Regions from separate parts of the Homo sapiens genome. Here region 2 is linked to region 1. Evidence: promoter capture Hi-C in human tissues and cell types (Jung and others, 2019). All regions are on one chromosome and are shown on one strand. Each heading gives the region's core, a stretch centred on a gene start or on the middle of the fragment in contact. The rest is flanking DNA. Distances are from core to core; before and after follow the strand shown. Region 1 holds the start of FYCO1 (FYVE and coiled-coil domain autophagy adaptor 1). Region 2 has its middle 7.4 kb from the start of XCR1.

The links. Contacts are between HindIII fragments. The study calls those that stand out against the background at their distance.
Region 2: a contact is called between a fragment that was not itself captured here and the fragment with the promoter of FYCO1 in region 1, in 1 of the 25 tissues and cell types used here (H1 embryonic stem cells).

Annotation. Positions count from the first base shown.
Region 1 is chr3:45,993,330-46,000,350 of GRCh38, forward strand. FYCO1 (FYVE and coiled-coil domain autophagy adaptor 1) reads right to left here and starts at 2,495. Exons shown (of 18, transcript NM_024513.4): 1 at 2,393-2,495. It overlaps LOC105377063 (a long non-coding RNA gene), which reads left to right and starts at 2,574. Exons shown (of 3, transcript XR_940799.3): 1 at 2,574-2,760. RefSeq lists enhancers at 1-248, 2,294-2,793, 2,294-2,343, 2,364-2,523. The HindIII fragment of the contact is 4,281 bases long and covers 1,643-5,923 here.
Region 2 is chr3:46,031,420-46,038,440 of GRCh38, forward strand. It overlaps a transcript of XCR1 not described here. Among named protein-coding and RNA genes, the nearest start is that of XCR1, 7.4 kb to the left of the region's middle. The HindIII fragment of the contact is 5,711 bases long and covers 1,112-6,822 here.

The DNA.
Region 1 (7,021 bases), core at 1,245-3,744:
TCTCAAAGCCATGGGGCCCATTTGCTCCAAGGCAATGGCTCTTATTATGGGGGTAGTACAGACATTTCAGCCATTTTTGTGATGTATCAACGAACAGCAAGAAGGTAAACAGCATTTCCATAGGTAGAACCACAGAAACATTCCAATTCCCACCCTATTGATTTATTTAATTGCTCAGATAGAGGCTCTTATACCAATAAAGACTTCTTATTTTCTTGAAACTGGCATTGAGCTCACAAACAAAATACTGTTTATCTTTTGACTAAGACAAGAACATAGCAGTCATGACGTGAGCAGATGTTGCCCTGACCATAATGGACTCATCTGTGCTCACAAGTTGCCTCTGTAATCACAGGCACCAGTTAATGACCCTTACCTGCTGCCTAGGGCTGCTTGCAGTGAACGTGGTTCCTAAATCTAGGTGCCTACCAGTGATTTCCACCATAAGACCACAGCTAGACAACACACTTCCTCTGCCTCATGTTTAAAGACATTCTAGTCTTGAGTCACCAAAGCTGTGTCTTTGGAATCTTCAGTAAACAAAAGTTACCTATCAGCTAAACATCTCCCCTAAAGGGAAGCAGGGTGGGTGGGGGTGAGGGGGCTGCCATTTCTTGCGTACCTACTTTGTATTCTTGAGTCAGCAGTCCATAGCCTTGGTGACCAATATGGGTCAAAGCTACCAGCTGCTCTGATCTTGCTCTGTTATGGGTGATTCCTCTCATCACAAACATCTATGGGGGCCATCCCCCTCAAAAAGGACCAGGTTAAAAACTTGGCTCCTGAAATTATACTGGTGCTCCAAACCCAGCCCCAAGGGGCAAAGGTCATCGGAACAACAGCTAAAGGATCACTGCCTGAGACTGTTACCAATCTCTAAAGTAACTGCAAAAAAAAAAAAAAATCAAAGTAAAATATTAAGAATTGAGTATACGGATATTCACCATACAATCCTTTCAGTGATTCTGTATGTTTATTTTTCTAATAAAATATTAAAAACAATTTAAAAAGTAAATGAAGTGCTACACAAAGATAGTCACTTTGAACATAAACAGATAAACTCTATTTCCTAAAGCAAGAGCCTTTAGGAGAGATCCTATTAATCAAAGGAGGCTGAGATCCATCACTGTGACAATTAGCTCTTATTTTCAGGGTGATAATAACCACGGTGCACAACTAGTATGGGGCATTCAATGCTTTCAGAACAGTGGTTGTCACAGAAGGGAGGGTCAAGTGGAGCTCACTCAACAGGGGTCCACTTCAGAAGGTGGGAACTACTGAAAGCAGAAAACCTTGGCATGATAGCTCCAGCTCCCCACCCCTCCCCCACACCAGCCCCCAACACCCTCCAGCCGCATTAGGCAGATGGCAGGGGAATTAAGCTTGCAGCCTGAGACCACAAGGCCTGCACGGGCAGGAGAACCAGTGAGCAGATTAAGCCCTGGATCCTCTGCCCCGCAAAAGCCCCTGACCCATTTCTCTGTCGGGAAAGGAAACTGCTGTGGTAAGACAAGCAGAGGGGCTGAGAGGCTCTGGCCAACACAGGCAGTTTCAACAAGTGTTCTATTTTTTTTTCTGGAGAGGACACCCAATGGGAACAGTGAAGAGTGACAGGGACATCAGAGAATACATGTGCTTTAACAGGGGGCCACGCGGTTAACGTGTCAACCACATGTGCTTTTCTTACAAAAAATAAAATCCCGCCATCCTCCCCCCTCCCCGCCCCACCCCCGCCAGGTTTCAACAGCACGGACTCCAGTCCAGTGCAGTGCCGCCACACCAGAGACAACAGGTGTTTCGGGAAAAGACCCCTGGGGGCTAGCTCGAGACCCTGCGCATGGGCACAAGGGGCAGTGGATAGTGAATAGGTCTTGGCCAAAGGATGGGCCAGGAAGAAAGAAGCTTCTTCCCCTCCTGGGAAGAGGGCAGAGATCCGAGCACCAGCGGAGTCTTGCAAAGTGAAGGTCTGGGCTGTCCCGGCCCAACTGGGCCAGAGACTAAACTTCCTAAAGACCACGCAGGCAGGAACTCCGGGGCCTGCCCCATCCTGCGCTAAGACATTCAGGCTTGTTCTGAGACGCCGCATGGTGGGCTCCTTTCCTTTGCGGGCCCTCCGCCCTCCGGGGTCTTGGAACTGGTGTTTGGGGTCTGTCTTTCTAACCGACCAACAGAGGCAGGCTGGGTGCCTGGGCCGGCTTCCACCTGCCCGAGGTGCTTCCCGGCCCGCTGGGCAAGGACGGGGGCGCTCGGGCAGGGTCTGAGGGAGACCTGGGATGGGCGGGGACTGTAAGGGCAACAGGTGACAAGCCGCGCCCCGAGCGAAGCTCTCGCCTCAGGGATCGTGAGCGACCCAGGTGCCCCCAGAGTCCAGCCGGTCTTCCGCGGCACTTACGCGCTCGTGGGTCCACCGCCGGGCAGAACCGAAACTTTCTGGGGCCAAGCGGAAGAGGACGGGAACGCGGTGCTGACGGCCATGACGCGCACACCAAGAGGGTGGCGGGGGCGGACTACAACTCCCGGCGTGCTCCCCGGGGCTGAGGCCTGCAACTCCCATCGGACTCCCGGGGCTCCGACTACAACTCCCGGCGACTCCGCAGGGCGGGGTTTAAGTGCTCCCACCGCCCAGTCCCCGGACCGACTGTCCCACCCGCGACCCATGCTGGCCCCAGGTTAACGCCTGCAACCCCGGAGGGCCACAAATCAAAGGTCTGGCATCTTGACAACAACGCTGTTCTTGTGTGGCTAAGGAGCACTCCAAAGGTAGCTAGTTCGAGTTGAATCGTGCACGTGCTGTAAGTGTGAAATACACCTAGGTACCAAAGAGTCCGAAGAATGTTAACTAGCTCATTAATTTTTAGTGATTGCATGTTAAAATGATAATATTTTGATATATTGGGAAATAGAAAAACATGTATTGGTGGGCCTAATTTCCCATCTTTTAATCCCCCTTATTTCTTAATATCAGGGTCTTACTTAAAATTAGTGCTCAAAAACTACGTGTTTATGAACTACCACCCCTAACTTTGGCCCCATCCTCAGCCCAACTTCTATTTATAAGATGGGTGTTGCAAAGCACTGTGGAACTGAATACGATAGAACAAAATGCATTCAATCAGTGTCCGCTATGGGCACAGTAGAAAAGAGGAACACTACACGGGGACTTTGGCTTCTAACTGACTGCATTCCTTAGCTGTGGCTGGCTATCCTTTACTCTCTGCCCTAGTTCTCATCATTTAAGCCAGAAACAGCTCTCTCCCTTGTAGGACCTAGCTCGTGGTATCCAGTCAGGAACCGTGGTGGCCCAACATTCTAAACTGAGGAAGCAGGGTGTTGTCTGGGTACAATAATACAGAAAGAAAATCAATTTCTTAGTCGATTTTAGGCTATGACATCTCATTAGCCATCTAATTTTATAAATTAGATGTAGCTAAAACAGTGAGTTGGATGGATGGAGTAGTCAGTTTGGGGGTGGGGTTGGGAGGAGGTACATGAATAGAAGTGATTTCCACTCTTGTTAACAGAAAGGAGAACAGAAAGAAAACGGGGGGAGTGAGAAGATGACAAAGAGAAAAGTAATCAATGTAGTGGTCTAAGAGAAATCATTGCTCCAACCACTGTCTGAACAGCTTCATGCAATATTAAGGATGAGAGAGATTTTAATGTTGGTCATCTGGTCCAATATCCTTGTTTGAAACTGTGTGGGGAAAAAAAAACCTCCCTCAAACCGTATTTTTCCTCTACTCTTACACAACAGCAATCATCAACACAGGAGAATAATTTGGTGACCAGATGTGTGTGGGGTTTTCCCCACACACTGAGCAGTGGACCGCACCTGGGTGTCCTCCAATTCAATTCCGACACTATCTACCTGGAGTATCAGATCCCACAAGTGGAGGGCTCAGTCCCCAAGACTGCCTCCTCACCTTTAAACACCAGTTGTAAGTCTAGGCCTCCAGAATTTTGGAATGACTGGCTTCAAGTTGAGTTCCCACGACACCCTCTTTGGGTTCAGCTAATTTGCTAAAGTGGTTCATAGAACTCAGAGAAACACATTTACTGGTCTATTATAAAGGATACTGCAATGGATGCAGATAAAGAGACACGTAGGATGAGGTGTGGAGGAAGGGGCGTGGGGCTTCCATGCCTTCCCTGGATGCACCACTCTTCAGTAACCTCCACGTGTTCAGCTATCCCGAAGCTCCCCGAATCCAGTCCTCTTGGGCTTTTATGGAAGCTTCGTGATGTCAGCATTGCTTCCCCCAGGGTATAGGGGAGGACCCTCTCTTGGGAGGGTCTTAAGACCTATAATCAGAAAGGCGGGGGAAGCGGCTGGGCACGGTGGCTCACGCCTGTAATCCCAGCTCACGCCTTGGGAGGCCGAGGTGGGCGGATCACCTGAGGTCGGGAGTTTGAGACCAGCCTGACCAACATGGAGAAACCCCATCTCTATTAAAAATACAAAATTAGCCGGGCGTGGTGGCACATGCCTATAATCCCAGCTTCTAGGGAGGCTGAGGCAGGAGAATCGCTTGAACCCGGGAGGCGGAGGTTGCGGTGAGCCAAGATCGAGCCATTGCACTCCAGCCTGGGCAACAAGAGCAAAACTCCATCTTAAAGAAAAAAAAAAAGAAAGAAAGGCGGGGGAAGATTAGAGTCCTGCCTTAAAGCAGGTGAAAGGAGGGCAGAAGGCCAGAGAGATTCGGTTTCCTGAAGCCTAACATACCTAACATAACAAAAGACTGTAACAAGGGCTATGGGAGTTATGAGCCAGGAACCATGGAAGAAAACCAAGATAGATAGATAGATAGATAGATAGATAGATAGATAGATAGATAGATAGACAGACAGATAGACAGACATCATAATACCACAGAAACTTAAACCCAAAAGGAGTTTGAAAAGAAAAGGAAAACAAACCTAATATTTATTGAGGACCTATATGCCAGTCCCTAGCCCCCCAGCAAAAAAACAAAAAACAACAACAAAAACCCATTCAGCATTATATTTAAAACTTGCAGCCACTTGGTGACATAATTAGTATTCATTATCATACTTTGAAGATGAGGAGATGAAGCTCAGAGAGGTTAAATGACTGTCCTGGTCCACCCACCTAATAAGTGGTGGAGAGTGGTGGAGGCTGGGGTAGAGCTGGGGGCTCCTGAGGGGTCTTCTGTCACCCAGCACACTGTCAGATACAGGGAAGGTTAACAAAATCACTACTGTTCAGGTAGTTTAACTTGGATTTCCTTTATAGATACAGCAGAGTATTTCAAACTATAATCTTTCAAACAAACATACAAACAAACGCAGCATATTCTTGTGTTCTGATGTGAATACACATTAAGAGATCAGATTCAAAATCACCAAATCCCCACACCCTCTCCTTACAGCCTTAACAAGTGGCAGAAGAGGAGACTATTCCTCACGGGAAGCTGACCGTGCCCACGGCCCTGAGGAGGGATGAGGCTCTTGGAATGATTGTTAAGGGCTTTTTATGTGCCAGGTGCCATGTTATGTGTATTCCACACCTGGTTTAGTTTTATCCTTATATCAGTCTCATGATACATAATTATCCACATTAAGCAGATAAGCAAACAGCCTTAGAGAAGTTAGCTAATTTGCCTAAAGCCCAAACCTTATAGTGGCAGAGACAAATTTTGAGCTCAGGTCTGTCCAATTAGAGTTTAAGCCTTTAACCACTGTGATGGCAGCTCCTTCCATGGGGCAGCCATGTGCTCTGCCAAGGACCCTACCATTGTGGCCCCTGCTGGTCAGGCCAGAAGTGGATGCCAGCCATGCCAATGGCATGGGGTGGCAGCTCAAAAGAGTCAGCCTCCTCTTGATAGTCACTGGTCAATTAATCTCTCTGCTGGAAAATTCGAGTGTAAGACCCACGGAAGGAATCAGAAGTTGACTGCAGAATCAACAGCTCTAAGCTGGTTGAGCTATCTTCCCCTACAGAACACAGCTTTTCAGTAATGATTCATAGACAATGCAGAAGGATGTGGACCTCAGGGCTCCGGAATTTGGTTTGAATTCTGACATGTATATTTTCCAGAATTTTTTCTCCATAACTCTACTATTGACTTTTCTCCTCAACCCTTCATCAACTGAAAACTTTTGAAATTTTAAAATAAGCTCTTGATAATACAGATTTAGACTTTTTCCATTTTAAGTGATAATAATAGAAAATAGCATTTCCCACAGAATAAGGGGACTATACTTCCTGGTTCAGCCAAGAGAGCCCTGTTATCCCAGCATGAATATTCACAGCACCTCTGTTCACTCCCAGTGGTGTCCCATTTTCTCAATACATTATAGTTACTGTTCGGGAAAAACTCTCAAACCGGTTTTCCTCTGTTCTCACACCACAACAATCAACACAGAAGACTTCTGCATTTCCTGAGGATTCCTTTCCACCACAAAGCAAGCAATCACTTCTGCAGCAGATACCAACTGGGTGTCCTCCAATTGAATTCTGACACTGTCTACCTGAAGATGGTGTCAGAGCCTGCCACTTTGGGGCCCACAACCCAAGAATCATGCTTCCCTCCTTAGATACCAGTCACAAGTCCGGCCCTCCAGAACTTTTGACTGACCAGCTTTGAGTTGGGGTTCCCAAGACCTCCTCTTTGGGTTTGATTGGTTTACTGAAGCACCTCACAGAACTCAGGGAAACACATTTACCAGTTTATTAAAAGGATATTACAAAGGATACAGATAAAGAGACGATACACAGGGCAAGGTATGGGGGAAGGGGCGCCAGAGCTTCCATGCTCTCCCTGGGCATACCACCCCCCAGGAACCTCCACGTGGTATGGAAACTCTGTGAACCCAGGCCACTTGGGTTTTTATGGAGGCTTCATTATATAAGCATGATTGATTAAGTCATTGGCCATTGGTGATCAACTTAACCTTCAGCTTCTCTCCCCTCTTGGTAGGTTGGTGGTGGAGCTAAGTCCCAACCCTCTAATCATGCCTCTGTCTATGGTGACCAGCCCCACCCTGAAGCTGTCAGTCT
Region 2 (7,021 bases), core at 2,717-5,216, 40 kb after region 1:
GTGCATGCTTGGGGCAGTGCTGACATGCTAGGCCCTGTCACCTTGGCCCCCTCTGGACTTTGTGCACCGATGAGCACAGGAGGAAGGCTGAGGAGGGGGGCGCTGAGGGCAGCTCATTCCTGGCCTGCAGGCAACCCTTGGCATGAACAGCCTGAGTCCCATAAACAGTGGTGGGTGGTGAACAAGCTCCTGGGCAGAAAGGGCCAGGTCCCTGGTGAAGCCCCACCTTCAAGCTGGGGAAGGCCTGAAGCCAGGTGGCTGGGCTGACAGTCCCACGAACCACAGGGGGACCTTTTGGTGCCTTTCCTTGTTCTGGCCCATGGCCACCCATGGACTTTCTCCCCTCTGCTGCCCATAAAAACCCTGGACTCAGCCAGATTTGGGAAGAGGATGGAGAGATGATGAAGAGACAATGGGATGACCTGTCTAAGAGAGGCTACCCACTCTAGGGCCTCCTCTCTGCTGAGAGCCGCAGAGACAATGGGATAACCTGCCTGCAGAGAGGAGCTTCCCACTCCAGCATCTCCTCTCTGGTAGGAGCTGAACACTCATTGGGACACCCTGGCTGCAGAAAGGAGCTATGCACTGTGAGTCTTCTCTGAGCTGTTCTATTGCTTGATAAAGCTCTTCATCTTGTTCATGCTGCACTTCTCTGCATACTTCATTCTTCTGGTTTGCAGGACAAGAACTTTGGACCCACCAAATGGTGACGCTAAAAGAACTGTAACACAAACAGTGCTGAAACATGCCCCCTGCTTGCCATATGGGCGAAGAGGAGAGAAAAGCTGTGGTCCTTTGGGGATCCCAGACCTGGGGTGCTCCCCAAGCTAGGACCGTGACTTCCTCTTTGGGGCCTTGTGGTTCCTAGCATCTCTAAGTCTCCGTGTACCACTGCATTCCCTTACGCTAGCAGGGGAAGCTGCTTGTGGTGCATCTGGTCCAGCCATAGCTTCACAGAGAGCCAGCATCCAGGCTGGCACCTGGAGCTGCCCACCCCACAGCATAGCTGGCATGTCTCACTATGCAATGCTGGACCCCACACTTGCTCACACAGCCCTTGCCACTTCATGCCTGACTCACAGTCTCCCTTGGAGGCATGGGATACAGGCTGGTAGTGTGAGCCTAGTGCAGCCTACCAGGCTGAGTGAGCAGGATAAGCCCAGTGGGCCTGAGGAAAACTTGGGCAAAGGCACCACTGGCCACAGGTTTCCAGCCAGAAAAGAGACCCCCCAAAGATCTTGTAACAATAAGACTATGTTTAGCTTTGTAATAAACTGTAAAACTGTCTTCCAAAGTGGCTGGATCATTTTGCACTTCCATCATCAATGAATGAGCATTCTCATTGCTAGACATCCACATTCACGTTAGCATTTGATGTCAGGTTCTAAAAAATGTATCCATTCTAATACGTGCATGGGGTACCTCATTGACATTTTAATTTGTAATTCTATAATGACATATGATGTTGAGCATCTTTTCATATGCAATTTCGAATCTGTCTATCATCTGTGGTGAAGTGTCTGTTTAGATATTTTGTCCATTTTCTAAATTGGATTGTTTTCTTATCATTGAGTTCTAAGAGTTCTTTGTATATTTTGGATATAAGTCCTATATCCAAAATTTTTTTCAAATATTTTCTCCCTGTATCTGGCTTGTCTATTCATTCTTTTAACAAGGTTTTTTTTTGTAGCGCAAAAGTTTTAAATTGTAATAAAGTCTAATTTATTACTTTTTTCTTTCACAGTATTGTATCAAAAACTCCTCAGTTTGGGGTCCTACCTAGGTATCAGAAAAAGAAGGCAAAAATTAAAGAAAAACAAAAATAATAAAAACTCATAAAAAATCCAAGGCCATCTAGATTTTCTCCGGTGTTACTTGCTAGAAGTTTTGTACATTTGCATTTTGCATTTAGATTTAAGATGCATTTTGAGTTTTTTGTGAAAGGTGTAAGATCTGTGTATAGATTCCTCTTTTGCATGTAGATGTACAATTGTTCTAGCACCACTTGTTGAAAATATCCTTTATCCATTTAATTACCTATACGTCTTTGACAAAAATCAGTTGACTATATTAGTGCAAGTCTATTTCTGGGCTCTCTGTTATGTTCTGCTAGTATACTTTCACCAGTGTCACACTATCTTGATTACTGTAACTTTATATAAAGTCTTAAAGTTTGGTAATGCTAGGCCCCTGACTTTGTTCTTCTTCAGTTTTTTGTTGGTTATTCTAGGTCTTTTGTCTTTCCAAATAAGCTTTAGAATCAGTTTGTTGATATTCACAAAATAAATTGCTGGGTTTTGATTGGGATTGCATTATAGCTATAGATCAAGTTAAGAATTGCCATCTTGACAATATTGAGTCTTCTTATCCTTAAACATGGAATATTGCTCCATTCATTTAGGTCTTCGTTGATTTCTTTTATAGAGTTTTATAGTTTTCCTTAGATAAATTCTGTATATATTTTATGAAATTGATGCTCAGGCATTTAAAATTTTTTGGTGCTAATGTAAATGGTCTTGTTTTCAATTTCAAATTTCAAGTGTTCATTGCTGTTTTTTTTTTCTTTTTCTTTTAGACAGAGTCTCACTCTGTTGCCAGGCTGGAGTGCAGTGGCGTGATCCTGGCTCACTGCAACCTCTGCCTCCTGGGTTCAAGTGATTCTCCTGTATCAGCCTCTGGAGTAGCTGGGATTACAGGTGCCTGCCCTCATGCCCAGCTAATTTTTTGTATTTTTAGTAGACGGGGTTTCACCACGTTGGTCAGGATGGTCTCGAACTCCTGACATCAGGTGATCCACCCTACTTGGCCTCCCAAAGTGCTGGGATTACAGGTGTGAGCCACTGCACCTGGCCATTGCTGGTATTTAGAAGAGCCAAGTCTTTTGTATATTAGCCTTGCCTTCTGCAGGCTTGCTATATAAATTATAGGAGTTTTTTTGTGCATTCTTTGAGATTTTATACTGTGAGAACCATGTCATCTGCAAAGATATTTTTATCTCTTCTTTCCCAATCTTTATACCTTTTATTTCCTTTTTTTTTTGTTTTATTGCAACAGCTGGATGTTCAGTACAATGTTGAATAGGAATGGTGACAGAGGACATCCTTGACGTGCTCCTATTCTTAGGGGAAACACATCCAGTTTCTTACCCTTAAGAATGTTAGGTTTAGGTTTTCTTTAAAAAATTATATAAATGTATGTGTACAAGTATAGTTTTGTTACGTGCATATATTGCATAATGGTGAAGTCAGGGTTTTTATGATATATACCACCTGAATAATATACATGGTACCCACTAACTAATTTCTCATAATGAAACTGACCCAATAGTCCCATAGAGAGCTTTTTTGATGAAAAAAGCTTCTGGTTTTAAAGCTTAAAACTTGTATTTGTTTTACCTGAGTTTCTTCCTCAGGAAAGACCTTCAGGCCTCTCAAAAAAATTATCAACCACCAGAAACTCACCATATCACCGCATCCAGATAATGAGATGCCAGACCCTTCATTCATCATGATTGCCTCCTTGCCCCTCCATAGTTCCTGTTTTCTTTTTCTTTTGAGACGGAGTCTCACTCTGTCGACAGGCTGGAGTGCAGTGGTGTGATCTCGGCTCACTGCAACCTCTTCCTCCCAGGTTCAAGTGATTCTCCCGCCTCAGCCTCCTGAGTAGCTGGGATTACAGGTGCTCACCACCACAGCCCGCTAATTTTTGTGTTTTTGGTAGAGATGGGGTTTCACCATGTTGGTCAGGCTGGTCTCAAACTCCTGACCTCCTGATCTGCCCACCTAGGCCTCCCAAAGTGTCGGGATTACAGGCGTGAGCCACCATGCCTGGCCCCATAGTTCCTGTTTTCTTACACATTGTTACATTTCTTCTCTGCTATGTAAACATCTCCTTTTAGTCAGTCAGGGAGATGGATTTGAGACTAAGCTCCTATCTCCTCAGTTGCAGCACCTGATTAAAGCCTTCTTCATTGGCAATAATTGTCTCAGTCATTGGTTTTCTGTGCCATGAGCAACGGGACCTAGACGAAACTCCTGGTATTTCAGTAACAGATTTTGGTTCCCTAACCAGCAACGTGTTGCCACAGTTGCTCATTGCTCAGCTGCCATGGGCCAGGAGTCTCAAAAGCCCTCCTAAGCAGCTGCCCACTCAGTTTTGGTTGGAGATAAGTTTCAGTCTGTCTCTGGCCCCACTACAGCTGGTCTCAACTGTGTTCCTGATTGCCTATGAAGAACTGTCTTTGAAATTTGACATCTGCATCCCGATAGGTGAGTGTCCTTTGTGGGCCCAGACAGCAGGAGATGCTCCTCTCAATTTGGGAAATTTTTGAAAGAATTTCCATTTGCAGGTTGAACAAGCCCAACTGACAGTGAGGGAAGCACCCTGTTTCACTACGGACACTCTTGGGGGCTTGTTTGTAATTGTTTGTGTGTGTGTCCAGGCAAGTGAGTGTCTTTTGTGGGTACCAGATAGCAGGATGTGCTCCTCTCAATTTGGGAAATTCCTAAGGAATTTTTGTTTGCAGGTTGATTAAGCCCAACCAGTGGAGAGAGGAAGGACCCCGGCTGTTTCAATTTGGACACTCTTGGGGCTTGTTTATTGCTGCAGTGGTCAGACTGTGTTTTGGTGATTGTGTGTGTATCATGGGAAATTAGAATTACATAAACTGATATTCTTTTGTAATAATGCTTGTCCCCAATATTGTTTGGAATCGGAGTTTGCTGTTGAATGAGAAAGTGGGATGGAGTTTCCTGTATCCAGGCTTTTATGTTGCTGTTCTGAGCAGGTTGGGCCTGGTTAATAGGTTCCAGGTGGTTTTCTGTGGTGCTGTTTGGCCCCAGTGTTCCTTGGAGTCTGAGGAGGTTTGGCCTTTAAAAATCAAACTGCTATGGAAACTGCTTTACCCAAAATTTTGGTTCACACCCTATGTTGGATTACATATGGGGCAAATAAAGTGTAACCACGTAAACCAATGACTTTGTATGTGTGCATATGCATGTCTAGATGTGTTTATGTATGTACATTTATTATGCTATGTCTTTTTGTCTAACAAATTGGCTTGTAAACAAAACAGAACTCATAAATTAAGTAAGCCCAAAGTATTTTTCAAGTTCACATGACTTAAGTAAATCTTTAATAAATGAACTGGCTTTAAAAATATTAATAAAATAAAAATAGGAATGTCTTAAGAATTGTTAACATATATTTTTGTTTGGGCTTTATATTTGTCTCTGCTAGATATTTTGAGGTATCAGGGTTTGGCACAGGTTATAAAATGATAAACCTAGCCAGAACAAAATGATCTTTGTAGGAATTTTTTAATAAGTAAGACTAATTTAATGTTATTGGTTTAATGAAAACAGCTGAATCTTCTGAGTTACTGGTGAAAATGCCCTTGTAGTTAACTTAAAGTTCTTATTTAGGTAAACACCTGATATTCACAGGTTATAAAATGGTTAACAAGGAAATAAATAATGCATAAGTAATCGAGATAAACTGCCAAAAATAAATAAAAAATGTGAGTAAGTGCTATAGGTGAAGTTTTTGTGTAACTTATAATCTTAAAAGTTATTTTCAATGCTTATTGGATGCCTGAGTCATTTCCAATTAAGGAAGGGTTATGATATCGGGAAATATATTTCTAAAAATTATAGAATTGTTCTCATTTATAAAATGCTAATATCTGGTAGGCAGTTGAGGGTTTCTTGCCTCATAGTATTTCACTAAAATTTAGGGTTACTAAGTATAAGAATTATATTAATTCTGTATATAAAAGCTACCCAAAAATGTGTGTTCTTAGTGAGAAAAAGAATAATTTTGTCTAATTCAGGAGTTATCTGAATGTTAATTCAAACTATGGACTTGAAAATGTTATTTATGAAACAAGGTAGAAAGGAACCAGTAAATAGGGGAGAGAGATATGAAGAAAGTTATGAATGTGACAACGTATTTTTGGTGAGAAAGGTTATAAAGAAAAGAGAAAAATATTGTGTGAGAAAGGTTATAAAGAAAAGAGAAAAATATTGTATGAGAAAGATCTTGTATGGTGAATTTTTGTCCTAAAATAAAATGACTAGTTATTTAAAAAAGAAAATAAAATTTAGGACAAAATAAGAAGTCCAAAAGTATCATAGATGGTCTATGTAAGTCATATGTTGCTTTTTCCTGGTTCTCTGTGTTTCTATCTTTATGCACACACAGAGAAAATAGAAAGTTGAAAAAGTTTAGATAGTAAAATATCCCTTAAAACCTGATAGAAAATTGGAAAAATTTGACTGATTAACATTGCTCATAGTTAAAGCTCTTAGTTTTGATGAAGATAAAATAAATATTATAAAGAAATATACTGTCAGTTTGGCAATTCTTTTTTAATACAATTAACTGTGAAGCCAGATTTAGCATGGAGCCAAATTTCACATACATGCTTGCATTGCTTCACAGTATATTTGCTATTTTGCATAGATAGTACTGGTACTAAGGTACTTGTACGGGTCATGTACCTAGATGAATTTCTTAATTTCAAAAAATGTATAGTGCTATCAGTTGACTTGAAGACGTTAATCTGTGCACCAGGAATAAAATATATGTTGTGTGCACGGGTTTGTTTTTTGTTTTTTTTTTTTTTTGAGAGGGAGTCTTGCTCTGTCACCCAGGCTGGAGTGCAATGGTGCAATCTTGGCTCACTGCAAACTCTGCCTCCCAGGTTCAAGCAATTTTTCTGCCTCAGCCTCCCAAGTAGCTGAGATTACAGGCACGTGCCACCATGCCTTGTATTTTTCTGAGAGGTGGGGTTTCACTATGTTGGCCAGGCTTGTCTGGAATTCCTGACCTCAGGTGATCTGCCAGGCTTGGTCTCCCAAAGTGCTGGGATTACAGGCATGAACCACCGTGCCTGGCCGTGTGTGTGTTTTTTTAACCTCTAGGTAACACTTTAGCCTCCAAGGTAAACTGAGTAGGATAAAAATTTGGGGTTGGTTTCCTGTTTATTTTTGCTTCTAATTTTCAATTATTGTTGTTTATT